2 separate regions of the Homo sapiens genome follow, and region 1 is linked to region 2. Evidence: promoter capture Hi-C in 16 types of primary human blood cells and fetal thymus (Javierre and others, 2016). All regions are on one chromosome and are shown on one strand. The core of a region is centred on a gene start or on the middle of the fragment in contact, and the rest is flanking DNA. Distances in the headings are between cores, read along the strand shown. Region 1 overlaps KLF12 (KLF transcription factor 12). Region 2 holds the start of KLF12 (KLF transcription factor 12).

Region 1 (6,061 bases), core at 1,839-4,338, 300 kb before region 2:
ATCTAAGATTCATAATCTCCCTTAATTTTTCCAAATTCCAAGACATCTCTCTGAAAGTTGCGTTCTATCTATTCTGATAAATGTCATTTTAGATATACGTCTTTTAGATATAATGTCTCTTAACTTTTCTTTCATGTTTTTGTCAGCTTTTCTACTTGTGCCAGAACAAGAACCTGGGCATTATCCTAGATTTATCTTTTCCTTTATCCTTGACATCCAACTGGCCAACAAATTCTATCACATTTCCATTCACACCACCCTGCTCAGGCTCTCAGGAATTCTCACGTGGCTTCCTGAAATAGTCTCCCTCCCTGTATTTTCAATACATTCAACCCTTCATGCCCAAAACTTTAATGTTACCATGTTAAATCCCATCTACTTCCAAGTTTCCTATGCTTCCCTGTAGAGTTCAGTAAATAAATCGTTAGCTTGGCACAGAAGGTCTGTGATAACTACATACATGAATACTGCCCTTAAGCTTCATTTCCGCTTCTTTTAAGTACTTTTCATTTGAACAATACCAACTTATCTACTTGTCGAATCTATCTACCAGGATACAGTATGCCCTTTTGTATTTCCAAGAGTGCATTTTTTAAAAACTGCCCTTCCTTTCCTCCATTGTTACACAGAGAATGTAACTAATACTTTCTTCTGAGAAACAGCCTTCTCCTGAAGTGATAGCCACACCTCACCGCCACCCAACACCACCACCGAGTATACTGCCCCTCTTCCTTTGCAATCCACCTCTGTGAGCCTGGGTTCACTGGATTACAGAGCTTGTCTCACTGTGGCTTTTTTGTCTGCTTTATCCATTTGACTGTGAGTGTATTGTGGGTACTGTACGTTGTGCATGTGGTTAAATCATGAATGTGTATTAATCACATGAATAAGTGAATAGAAAGAAATACACTGCACAATTCCCGGGTAAAGCAAAAGGCTGAAAAATTGGAGATTAAAATTTAAAAAAGAAATCTTAATTTTTGAATCTGGCAGGCCAAATTTTATTTAGTTTTGACAGATGAGTCAGAGAGCAACAAACAAAATAAATCAGTACTGTAATCAACATATCTGTTTAAATAATAAGGATATTTTTCTCAGATGTTACAAGATAGAGGATAAAATTCAAGAGTTTTATAACAAGTCAACTAGTTTCATTTGGTTTATAAAGTTCTAGGTGGTATCATTTTTTAATAAAAATATATACATGTCCACATATATCTGTCTCTGTATATGTGCATTTACATTTATACATAGATGCATAAATAAGGTCTAGTACCAAGTTCTTCTCTGAGCATATTCTAATATGCCCGGGTATCAGATGGACACTGCATTCTGAAACTTACAAATATGCAAGGCCTCTGCAAATTCTGACTGCCTGAACAATAACAACTGACTGAATAGTAATAATATGGCTGAGCTCCCCAGTATCTTTTCTGGAATAAGGTATGGAATGAATAAATAATGCTAAAAAAGTCTGTGGTGGCTTACTCTTGCTATTAAGGATGATTGCATTCTCAACGTTCTTCATAATTATAAATATAGAACACAATACTGAAAAATAGTTATAAACCATTCAGTGGCTTATTTAGACTTGTAAATGGACAAAACTGTAATCCTCTGTTTATATCAGATCACACAAAATTATATAGTTAAAACTAGTGTAAATTATGATTGAAAGGAGGTTTAAGTATGAAGGACTTATCATGGTGACTATTAAAGTAATCACAATTGGCCAAGACAGGCAAGAAATGTGCTTGTTAATAGTTGCATTAGTTGCAAGGTGGATAATGAGATAATAAAACACATAATTGGAGGTTATACTATCTTGATTACTGTAGATTATACCAATGGGCACAATAATGCCACTAAGCAGTGCATCACCAGTGAGCACTCATTTGTTAGATGATAAATGGGTAATGATCTACTATAACCATAACTTCCAGAACGTGACAGAAAATACTTCCTATGACATATCATGATACCAACACATTTTGGACAGCAGGCAAGATCTTTCACTCTTTGATAAACTTAATAAATAATAGAGAACTACAAAAACAGAAAAGATACTATATGGCTCTGAAAAGACACTGAAACAAAAACTGGAAAATGCCAGATTTTACTATGAAGCTATTCTCCATAACCAAACACACACTTTATTGAATTCATTTTCCAATTTTGAAGAAGGCATTTCTGAACATCTGCTATATAAGCTTGGATAATTCTAAAACTGTAATGTTATAATGATTATTAGCTATTGGCTAGTGCTCAGAATTTTATTGAACTCATTAATCTAAGAAAAATAAATATAATTATAACAGTAATAATAAATGTTGGCCGTGTCTTTATTTTTGTAGTTTCCCCTTGTGTCTTCCAGAAAATTACTACTACCACAACGAGGCAAGATAGAACAGGCGTGTCTGTGTTGTATATGTCTTTCTAACCAATTCCCTGCTCAAAAGAGCTCTAGGCAGGGGCCAGATATGTCTAAAAATGACATGGATGTCGATCTCTGAAACGCAGTGAACCACACTTTGACTAAATTTCCCTGCACCTAGAAATGTTAACCTACAGCTTAAGGCTGTTGTTTTTCAGGCTGCAGGATGCTAAAGAAATGAAAATACATGATACAGTACTATAATATCAATATTTAGCAACATGGAATTACCTCACGCAATTCATACACACACACACACACACACACACACACACACACGCATACTTATTTTACATACAGAATAGATTTCATATATAATAAATTTTAATCCTTGTCAAAAAACTGAATGATTTAAAAACATAATGCCACCTAATTTGAGGAATTATGGAATTGGATATTTAAAACTGACACATTCTCTAGATAATTAAGGCATACTTTTTAAAGCATCAAGCCTAAGTACAGCAAAATGGCTATGGAGTATTTAGAAATTCTGACTTAATTCAAGGCTCTACCACTCTTAAGCTGTGCCCTTATAAGTGGTACAGAAAGTGATATGAGTCTTAGTTTTCTCATTGCAAAACACTGACAATAATATCTACATGTTGGTTATTGTCAGGCTTAAAGATAACATATGTAAAGCAGAAAGAACATATAAGCACTCTATAAAGGTTATTTAATATTATTTAAATGATTTTTAATAAATATATTTACAAGATTTATTACATACTTTGCTACCTTTTTCAAATGGACTGATGATAATTTAACCTTTCTTTCATTACTAATGGTCATTATTTCAAAAGCAATTATTACGCTGTAATAAAGTATTCTCTCCAAGGACTAAAGCGCCGTGTTAGCCTGTTTGCTCCCATCCAGAAAGACCTTGCTGCAATTATTCAAGTTCTTGTTTTAATAATAATTTTGACGTTTTCTTTGCTGGCTGCCACTTTTTTACCCTCAGTGCCCCTACAGATAAAGGGAGTTTCCTAATTTGGGAAGGGAATTGGCAGATGAGAATCTCAGGAGGTATTCAGCATCTATAAACTGGTAAAGCAAAATCAGTAGATCTATTTTCTTTCAGTAACAAAATCTACAGAAAGAGAAGTGCTACAAAATTTTGTGACTATTGGGCATCCATAAAAATCTACTGAGAAGACATTTTGGGGAACCCAAGTTATAAAAATAACGATTGAGAAATATTCCTATCACTTATTTTTCTTTGCATTTTTATTTGCTATTCTCTACTTACGTGGTTAGAAAATTATATTCACAAAGAACATAACAAATATATCCAAGCCAAGAGTTAAAATGCTTTGAAAGACGGAGGATCTTGAGTCCTTTCCTATAAGTAACATAGAGTACATGTAATGTAGACAACATATTTTGTATCATATGCAGTGTCTGTGTGGGAGGTGACCTCATGGGCTACTTTCCAGTACAAGCACAGTATTCCTCATTCTTTGTGTGCCCTCCATTCTCTACTCTCATTATTTACTCTTTTCCTGGTCTGAAACACTCCTACCTACTTTGAGTACCAAAGCTTTACGCTTCTCCAACTTTCGCCTCAAATGCCACCTACTCTCCCCTTCTTATAATGTAAGACTTCCTCCAGAGTCTAGTTCATGTTCTCTGGAGATTTACAACCTAGGCCTCTAGAAGGTTTCCTCTGTTTAAAAGGTCTCTGTGTTTACAGAGGACTGATTCACAGCATTCACGTCTGACAAAGGCCACACCGGAGATGATTAGGGGGAGCCCTTGGATTTAGCACAGAAGAGACAAAAAAGCAATCAAGAAATTGAAAATGCCTTCTAAACACAGAACACTGGAAACAATTCAGACAAAGCTATTTTAGATTCGTGCTGCGGTTTACTTAATACGTTTTTAAGATCAGAGAACTGAGGAGGAAAACCAAATCTTTGTTTTATGGATGCAACAAATGGGCCCACCATGCTAAATACATCATTTATTCTTTCTCACAGAGAGATATTTAACTCTGTGGTACAAATAAAAGTAGCAAAGTAGCATTTCCCTTCTACTTAAGGTTTGTTAAAGGAAATTTATGCTTTTAAAATGCTCTACAAACACCAAAAACTGATTGTACCATTATCAGCTTTTAAATCAAAACAGCTTGCTATCTGCTAAGGACAGGAAAAATGGTCGATTTATTTCATAAAACTTTATGTACAAAGAGACACTGCCTATGAACTTAATGGAGAGAATATAGAGTCTGGAGAGGTAATTTTTATTACAATTTATAGTGGGATTACTCATACTCCACAGTTTTCAGATTTTATGGCATCATGATGCTGATGCAGTTAACTGCAGTGGGGTAGGAGGCATAATTTGTTTCGCCCTGAGTGGGAAATGAAATTGGCGTTACTATTATATAAGAAACTTAGCAGATTCTATTAATTGCCTGGATCCAATCAAAGCTATTAGTTATCCTAGTTTCACAGGTAAAATATTTTACCTGAGAGTAAAAGAATAAATAAGAACTGACTACAATTTTCATACAGCAATATCTACGTATTAAGACTGTTTGGAAGCCCAAAGAATATTTCTTACCCACAGGAGTTCATCTCCAGAAACTACTAAAACCTAAATCACATCAAGTATCTATAAGGTACCACCAAACATTATTCTCTAATATTAAGTGCTACAAAATAAAACAACTAGGGAAACAGCAGAAACAATGTATTCAAGAACACCAGGCGACTACAGATTGACATACCACAGCAACAGCTTGGGGGATGGTATTCACTCATTCTGCACTTAAGAGTGTTTATTGTGTGCCAGATGTTGGATAAGGCAGTAAGGCAATGAGAAAAGATGATGTGTGTGTGTTTGTGGGGGTGGTGGTGGTATATGAATTGCCTTACAATTTGGTATGTACTGTTTCAGAAAAGAAGGCATTTGAGCCAGATCTTTTGTCAGAGAAAGAAAAGGCTTCCCTTTGCTTTCTACATGGATAAAGGTAGAATGTCACCTGAAGGGCCACGCAACATGGCTGGGACGTGAGATGTATTTGGTGGAATGGCAACAGACTGAGAGGGAGGGGTAGTATGTGAGGTAGATGTGAGGACGTGCGGAGGCTTGCTGGTTACATGTTATGTTTTGGCAGCCTCCTATTTCACCATGGGAAGGTTTATTCTACTGTCAGGGTTCAGACTGCACGTCTACACTGGCCACACAGCATTCCTAAGCATCTCACACAAAACACTGTTCCTGCAGTGTTTCCCACATTAATGCATTCATTTCTTCATCCATCTCTTCAGTAAATATTTATTGAGCATTTACTAGTGTCAAACACGATGTTGGGGAAATATTAGCTAATGAGGCTTAAATGGTACTTTCATGGAGCTTAAATTGTAGTGTAGAATTCGGGGAGAACACCTCCTCCCCCCACCACAACCTCTTTATTTTAGAAATGAGCATTTATAACAATATAAACCACATTATATAAGCACCACAGTTCTCAGCAGAGGAGCTTATTCTTACTATACGTTACCCAAGTCCTGCTATATCTTTCTCTCCCCAAAGAACTGAGAAACCCATATACCTAGCAAAGAATTACCCTTCTTCTAATTCTACCATGCTCCTACTGAACTCCTAAGACCCTAGTATTTGAAA
Region 2 (5,468 bases), core at 2,860-5,359:
TTTCCAGTCTATGATCATACAGTATTTTCAAATAGAAAATGACAGATAAGCAACTACAACCTATTTCAGACTTATTTTAAAAATTAAACTTGTAGCCAGCGCAGTCGCTGATGCCTATAATCCCAGCACTTTGGCAGGAGGTTTGCTTGAGGCCAGGAATTCAGGATCTAGCCTGGACAACACAGTTAAGACCCCGTGTCTACAAAAAAATTTTTAGCTGGGTGTGGCAGTGTGCACCTGTAGTCCTGCCTACTTGGGAGGCTAAGGTGGGAGGATCCCTTGAGCCCGGGAATTTGAGCTATGATGATGCCACTGCAGTCCCGCCTGGGTGACAGAGTGAGACCTCAACTCAAAAAAAAAAAAAAAGCTGTTTTCTAAGCAGAAAAGGTAATAATGGTGTTGATTTTGAATAAAACTGTCTTGGGATTTTAGCTCATGTTCATTAATCAGCATGCAAGTGGCAAGCAGAAAAACTTATAAACAAAAACTTTTCAAATGAGTTTGTGCCATTACTAGTTTTATAGTTTAATACACAATCTACAGCTAGATTTATGAACTTGACTGCTTCTCTCACAATATAAAGAAAACAAACCATTTGACACTCCAATTTAATGTGATCATTGTAATATTATTAATTTGCAAAAACATAAAGTCCCATGCTTTCCATGTTGTACAATGGAAAAAATGTCCAGGACCTCTATATGTTCATCTACTTAACAATATGCCTTCACTGGGTAAGGTTACCCCAAACTCTAGATTAACCAACACTGGCTTGAATTCAAAATGCTCTCAGCATAGGCCTAGAGGCCTAAGCACTTACGTTGTCTCTGCAGAGATAAAACACACCTATATTTAAGGCCAAATTATTTCAGTAAGTTGATAACAGCCTGTTTCATGATATACTGTAACATCTAAAACTCACTGGAGCCTGTTAAAGTGCATACTTTCCCTGAACAGGAGTCAGGGAAAATATCCCTGAGCAACATGTATATTTTCACATGACCAGAACACGATGGATATTACAGGCCAGATGCATGTTCTTCAGAATGAACGTCAAGCATCCCGATTTGTTCTCCCTTTGGCCTGGGGAGAGTGAGTACACTAGTGTTTGCAGACCTTCCCTTTCAGCACACACATAGGCTGCAGCTGTAGTAAACAACCACCAGCCAAGAGTTGCTAAGGTCAAGGTCTCAAATGCTATACCAGGACCATTTACTCCCAAATGATAGTCATTGCTGTAAAAAGAACTTCTGGGGAGTGGGAGGTGGAGAATATTAAGGACTCATTAGCACAACAATTTTTTTCAATAAACAGTAATAAAAAGCATTCCACAATAAAGTTCAGCTGACTGCATTGCTAAGTAGTAGATAAATAACTGAAGGTTTTCAAAAATAAACAGAAACCCTCAAGAATGTTTTGTTTAACCTGACATAGCCATGTTGGTTACATGGTCTTAGTTCAAAATTATGAAAATTTTATGTGAAAACATTTCAAATTTCAAATTTTCCCAGTACATTTCATAATAGTTATTAAATTGGCAGAATAATAAACTGCTTTCCTAATTTTTATATGCTCAAATTGCTCTTTCCCCAACTCAAAGGAGCTTAATATATTCAATCTAGTATCAAGACCCGTCTGCAACAATAAAGATATAACTTACCCAACTGAAACGTCTGTCCTTCAACATCCTATTTCCACTATGCTTCTACAGTTTGAAATTTTCTAACCTAAAAGTATACTCCTTTATCGGAACCAATTTCTATGTGGTCTTAAAAAATGCACACAACATGTGAATGAGGTCTGAGAATAGCACAAGCAAGCTTTTTTCCTTGAGGGAGGGGGGGTCCACTGTTTTAAATAAATGTCAGTTCTAAAAGCGTTTCTTAGAAGACGGTATACACCCACTCCTCAAAGTGACCACTCCTATTCCCATCACAAGCTGCTTCTTGCTAAAAGCCACCAAATTTATTTCAAAGCATTTACTTATCTAAACAACTCTATCGTCCAGTAAGAAAAGGGCATGGAGGCGTCTAGGTGGTTTTGCAGAATGACGTGTATTTGATTGGCAGATGTCTACCGAAGTCACTAGATGCACACGCACTAAATGTAAATAGAGTTGCTCGTCTCTCCGATGTTACAGGGAAACAGAGAATCTTAACGCTGGTGTAAAATAAAATATCAGAGTGCTCGCCGAGAATTCCATTAGCCAGTGGAATTATCTAAAACAATCCATACAGAACGACACTTTAGCCATCTATACAGTTAAATTAGAGTGCTGACAATACTAACTACGCAAACTGTTTATCCAGATTACACATTCCGTTGTATTAATACTCTTTAACTCAACACAGTCAGCTTTTATCAGCTGAAATAAGACTATTACTATTAAAGTATGCAAAACTCGAAGCGCAGGGTGAAGGGGGTTGGGAAGCTGCAGGGCATATAACAAAGGAATTGGTACTTTTTCCAAGCATTTGCCTCAAATGCACTGCGAAACAAAACTGTTGAGTGCACCCCACCCTTTTCCCCAAAGATAAAAGTTTTCAAAGTTCTTGCAGACAGCTCGCTACCCAACAAAAGCAGGACTGATTCTCCCCGTAGGGGAGCATCTAACGTGAACACCAACTAATGTCGCGGAGGTCAAGTCTGAACCCTCAGAGTGAGCTTCTGAGGCAAGAAGTGGCTCCCAGGCCGGCTCTGCGGGTTCCCGGCCCGGGTGGACGTACAAAGTTGCCCCTTGTCAACTCCGGCCAGGTCCCCCGTAATTGAAAATAACAGCCACCGGCCAGCCCCTGGCTACTTGCATGGACCAGGCACTGTAGCAAGTGACAGTTACACATCATTACGACCAGAGACAATAATGAATGTAGCACCAGGAGCACTATTCATGCCAGCAGTGTCATCTCCGCCTTAACCCCTTCCCCTCCACTCTCTCCAGCGCGCACACACAGCCCACACGGTCCCGGTGCGGAGCTATTCATCCACCCCGCTCGAGGCCGGGGGGCCAACTACTTCCACGAGCCCCCCCTCCCCCCCAAGTTCAGCCCTGGGGTTTTATTTCACATCCTTGGCAACTGTCAGGCAAACACTGCAACCAACAATTCCACTAGGGGTAGAAAAACACTTGCTTAATTCACGTTACTTGATAACTTCTTCTGGAAAAAAAAAATTAGGGGAGGTGGGGAAGAAACCTCCTTCTTTCTTCTCCACGAATCCGACCGACGCTACTTGCTTTGCAACAGCATCGCCCTTCCCCGGCCCCCTCCCGCTTCCCAGCACTTTCCCCCTTTAAGAACACAGACCAACCAAAATGATTTAACTTGAGCAGATGACAGAAGGAAAATAAAACACGTTAAGAGAATACGGTCTGATTTGGGATGGCAAAAAAAAAAAAAAAAGAGGAGGGGGTTGTTTATTTTGATAAGAAACGGAATCGGCACAGACCTGAACAGAAGCTGCAGAGCAGGAGAAATTGTTTTCTTTCCCTCACACAGAGTCCCCCTCTCTCTCTCCCTTTCTCTCTCTCACACGCGCGCGCGCACACACACACACACACTCGCACACACACGGCGTCACCCGCGCACACGCACACGCAGAGCCTCTCAGCGGCTCTCTGCAGTTCTCAGGAAATGAATGGGGGGCAACCCGGGGAACTGTTGTACTTGCAAATGACTTACCCGGATCACATGATGCGCTAAATGTAGGGTGGGCCGGTGGGTGGAGGCTGCCGAGTTGCGAGCCCCGGTCTAGTGTGGGGAGCCTCGCCAGGCCCGCATCGAATTACCCCGGGGCCCAGCCGAGGGGGTTGCAGGACGCCGCTTCTCCTCCCTCGCAGCCCGCAGCTCAGGAAACCGGAGAGGCGCTTGGGGTGGGGTGGGGTGGGGTGCTGTGAGGGGGGGGGCCGAAAACAAGAAACCCCCAAACAAAAGAGCTCCGGGTCCTCCTCCCCAGAAACAAAGCCCCGCCGCTGCCGGCGAGCCCCGGGGTGGGGCCGAGGGCGGGGGCGGCGGCGGGGAGGGGCTCGCTCAGCAGGCGCTAAGTCGCTTTATTGCCATAAAATGGGGCCCCCGAGCCGCTCCGCCCGAGGATTAGGAGGCGGGCTCTGAGTGTGATGGTTGAAATCCCCTGTGGGAAACTAACCCCTCCCCGCTCGCAGAGGTAGAAGGCAACACCCACTGCCCGGCCCTCGCCTCCCCGCCCGGACCGCCGGGCTGGGTCCGCGGCGCCTCCACCCCGCCCCACCCCGCCCCACCCCTGCCCCCGCCCTCCGGCCCCGGGCCTCGGCAGCGCTTCCCTTTCACCTGCACCACTTTGCTGCGGCACCCCAAATAACCCACACATGGCCCTGGGAGCTCGGGGAGTCGTCGGCCGAGGGGGCCCGCGGGGGCTTGCGGCGGGAGGGACCCCTGGAGAGCAACTCGCTGGGCAAGGACTCGCGCCGAGCCGCGAGAAAGTCTCCTCTTTTGTGTCAGAGCGCGCCAGACAGGCTTAGGAGAATTCGGGGACCCAAAAAGCGTGCAGCCCGCTTGGGCCCCCACCCCTCGCCGCACCCGCCCGGGTGGGGGCGCGCAGTGGAGGGAGGGGGCTGTCGCCCGGGTCGTCCCCGCGGCTCGCCCGCCAGCGAACTTGGAAAGGTGTGGGCGGAGCCGGCCGGGACTGTGGGGCAGCTCGCGGGGACCGCCCCTGGGCGCCGGGCATCGCCCGCGCCGGGCAACAATGGGGTCAGGCAGGGGCAGCCCCGCGGGCGGTGCCCCCCGCGCGCCGGTGGGGCGGGCGGAGGGCCGGGCGCGGCAGGCAGGGGAGTCATTGTTTGGGTTCCGGAGCGACGCACGTTGCGGGCGAAGCGGGGGCGCCCCTTTTCCCTGCGCTTCACCTTGGCGGGATGAATGGGGGCGAGGCGGAGATGCGCGCCTGGCCTCGCCACCCCAGCGAAGGGGCCCCTGCCTGCGCCAGTTCTGTGGGAAAGCACGCAAACTTGGAGGACTGGGGCAGAGGAAGCGGGATCTGCAGACCCCCGCGGGGCCCGGGGGCGGCGGGGAAGGGAGTCCAGCTCCACTGCCCCACGCCCAGAGCGGAGCCCCAAGAAGCGGACGGCCCGGAGCCGAGTCCTTGACGCTCTCCCCGGCAGCCCCTCCCTCCCCGCCTCCGCGCCCCGGGGAGCGGATCCGCGGGATTGTGGGGCGGGAGAGGGAGGAGGCGGCCGGGCGGCCCTGCAGTTCCCGCGGCGGCTCGGAGGGCGCGGGGTCAGCGCCGAGCCGGAGGGTCGGCGGGGGCGGGGAGCAGACGGGGCGGAAGCGGCCGGGCGGGCGGGGCGCGCGGCGGACGGAGGCGGGAGGCTGTGGGCCCGCCTCCTCACCATCCTAGGTGAGCGCGGCGCTCCGGGCACGACAGTATTCCCCTGCCCCGCGCCCCCGGCCCGGCCCGCCCCGCGTGGGAAATCGCCAGGGCTGTGGGAAGGCCGGGAAGGG

What was found. The method cuts DNA at HindIII sites, captures the fragments that hold promoters and counts their contacts. A CHiCAGO score of 5 or more calls a contact.
Region 1: a fragment that was not itself captured here is called in contact with the fragment with the promoter of KLF12 in region 2 in 6 of 17 cell types (non-activated CD4 T cells, fetal thymus, activated CD4 T cells and 3 more); the score reaches 8.1 in non-activated CD4 T cells.

The regions. Positions count from the first base shown.
Region 1 is chr13:73,828,313-73,834,373 of GRCh38, forward strand. All of the region lies in intron 4 of KLF12 (KLF transcription factor 12), which reads right to left. Among named protein-coding and RNA genes, the nearest start is that of LINC00393, 170 kb to the left of the region's middle. The HindIII fragment of the contact is 1,761 bases long and covers 2,209-3,969 here.
Region 2 is chr13:74,130,295-74,135,762 of GRCh38, forward strand. KLF12 (KLF transcription factor 12) reads right to left here and starts at 4,110. Exons shown (of 8, transcript NM_001400136.1): 1 at 3,678-4,110. RefSeq lists enhancers at 2,588-2,767, 2,798-2,847 and a silencer at 3,857-5,468. The HindIII fragment of the contact is 3,671 bases long and covers 1,819-5,468 here.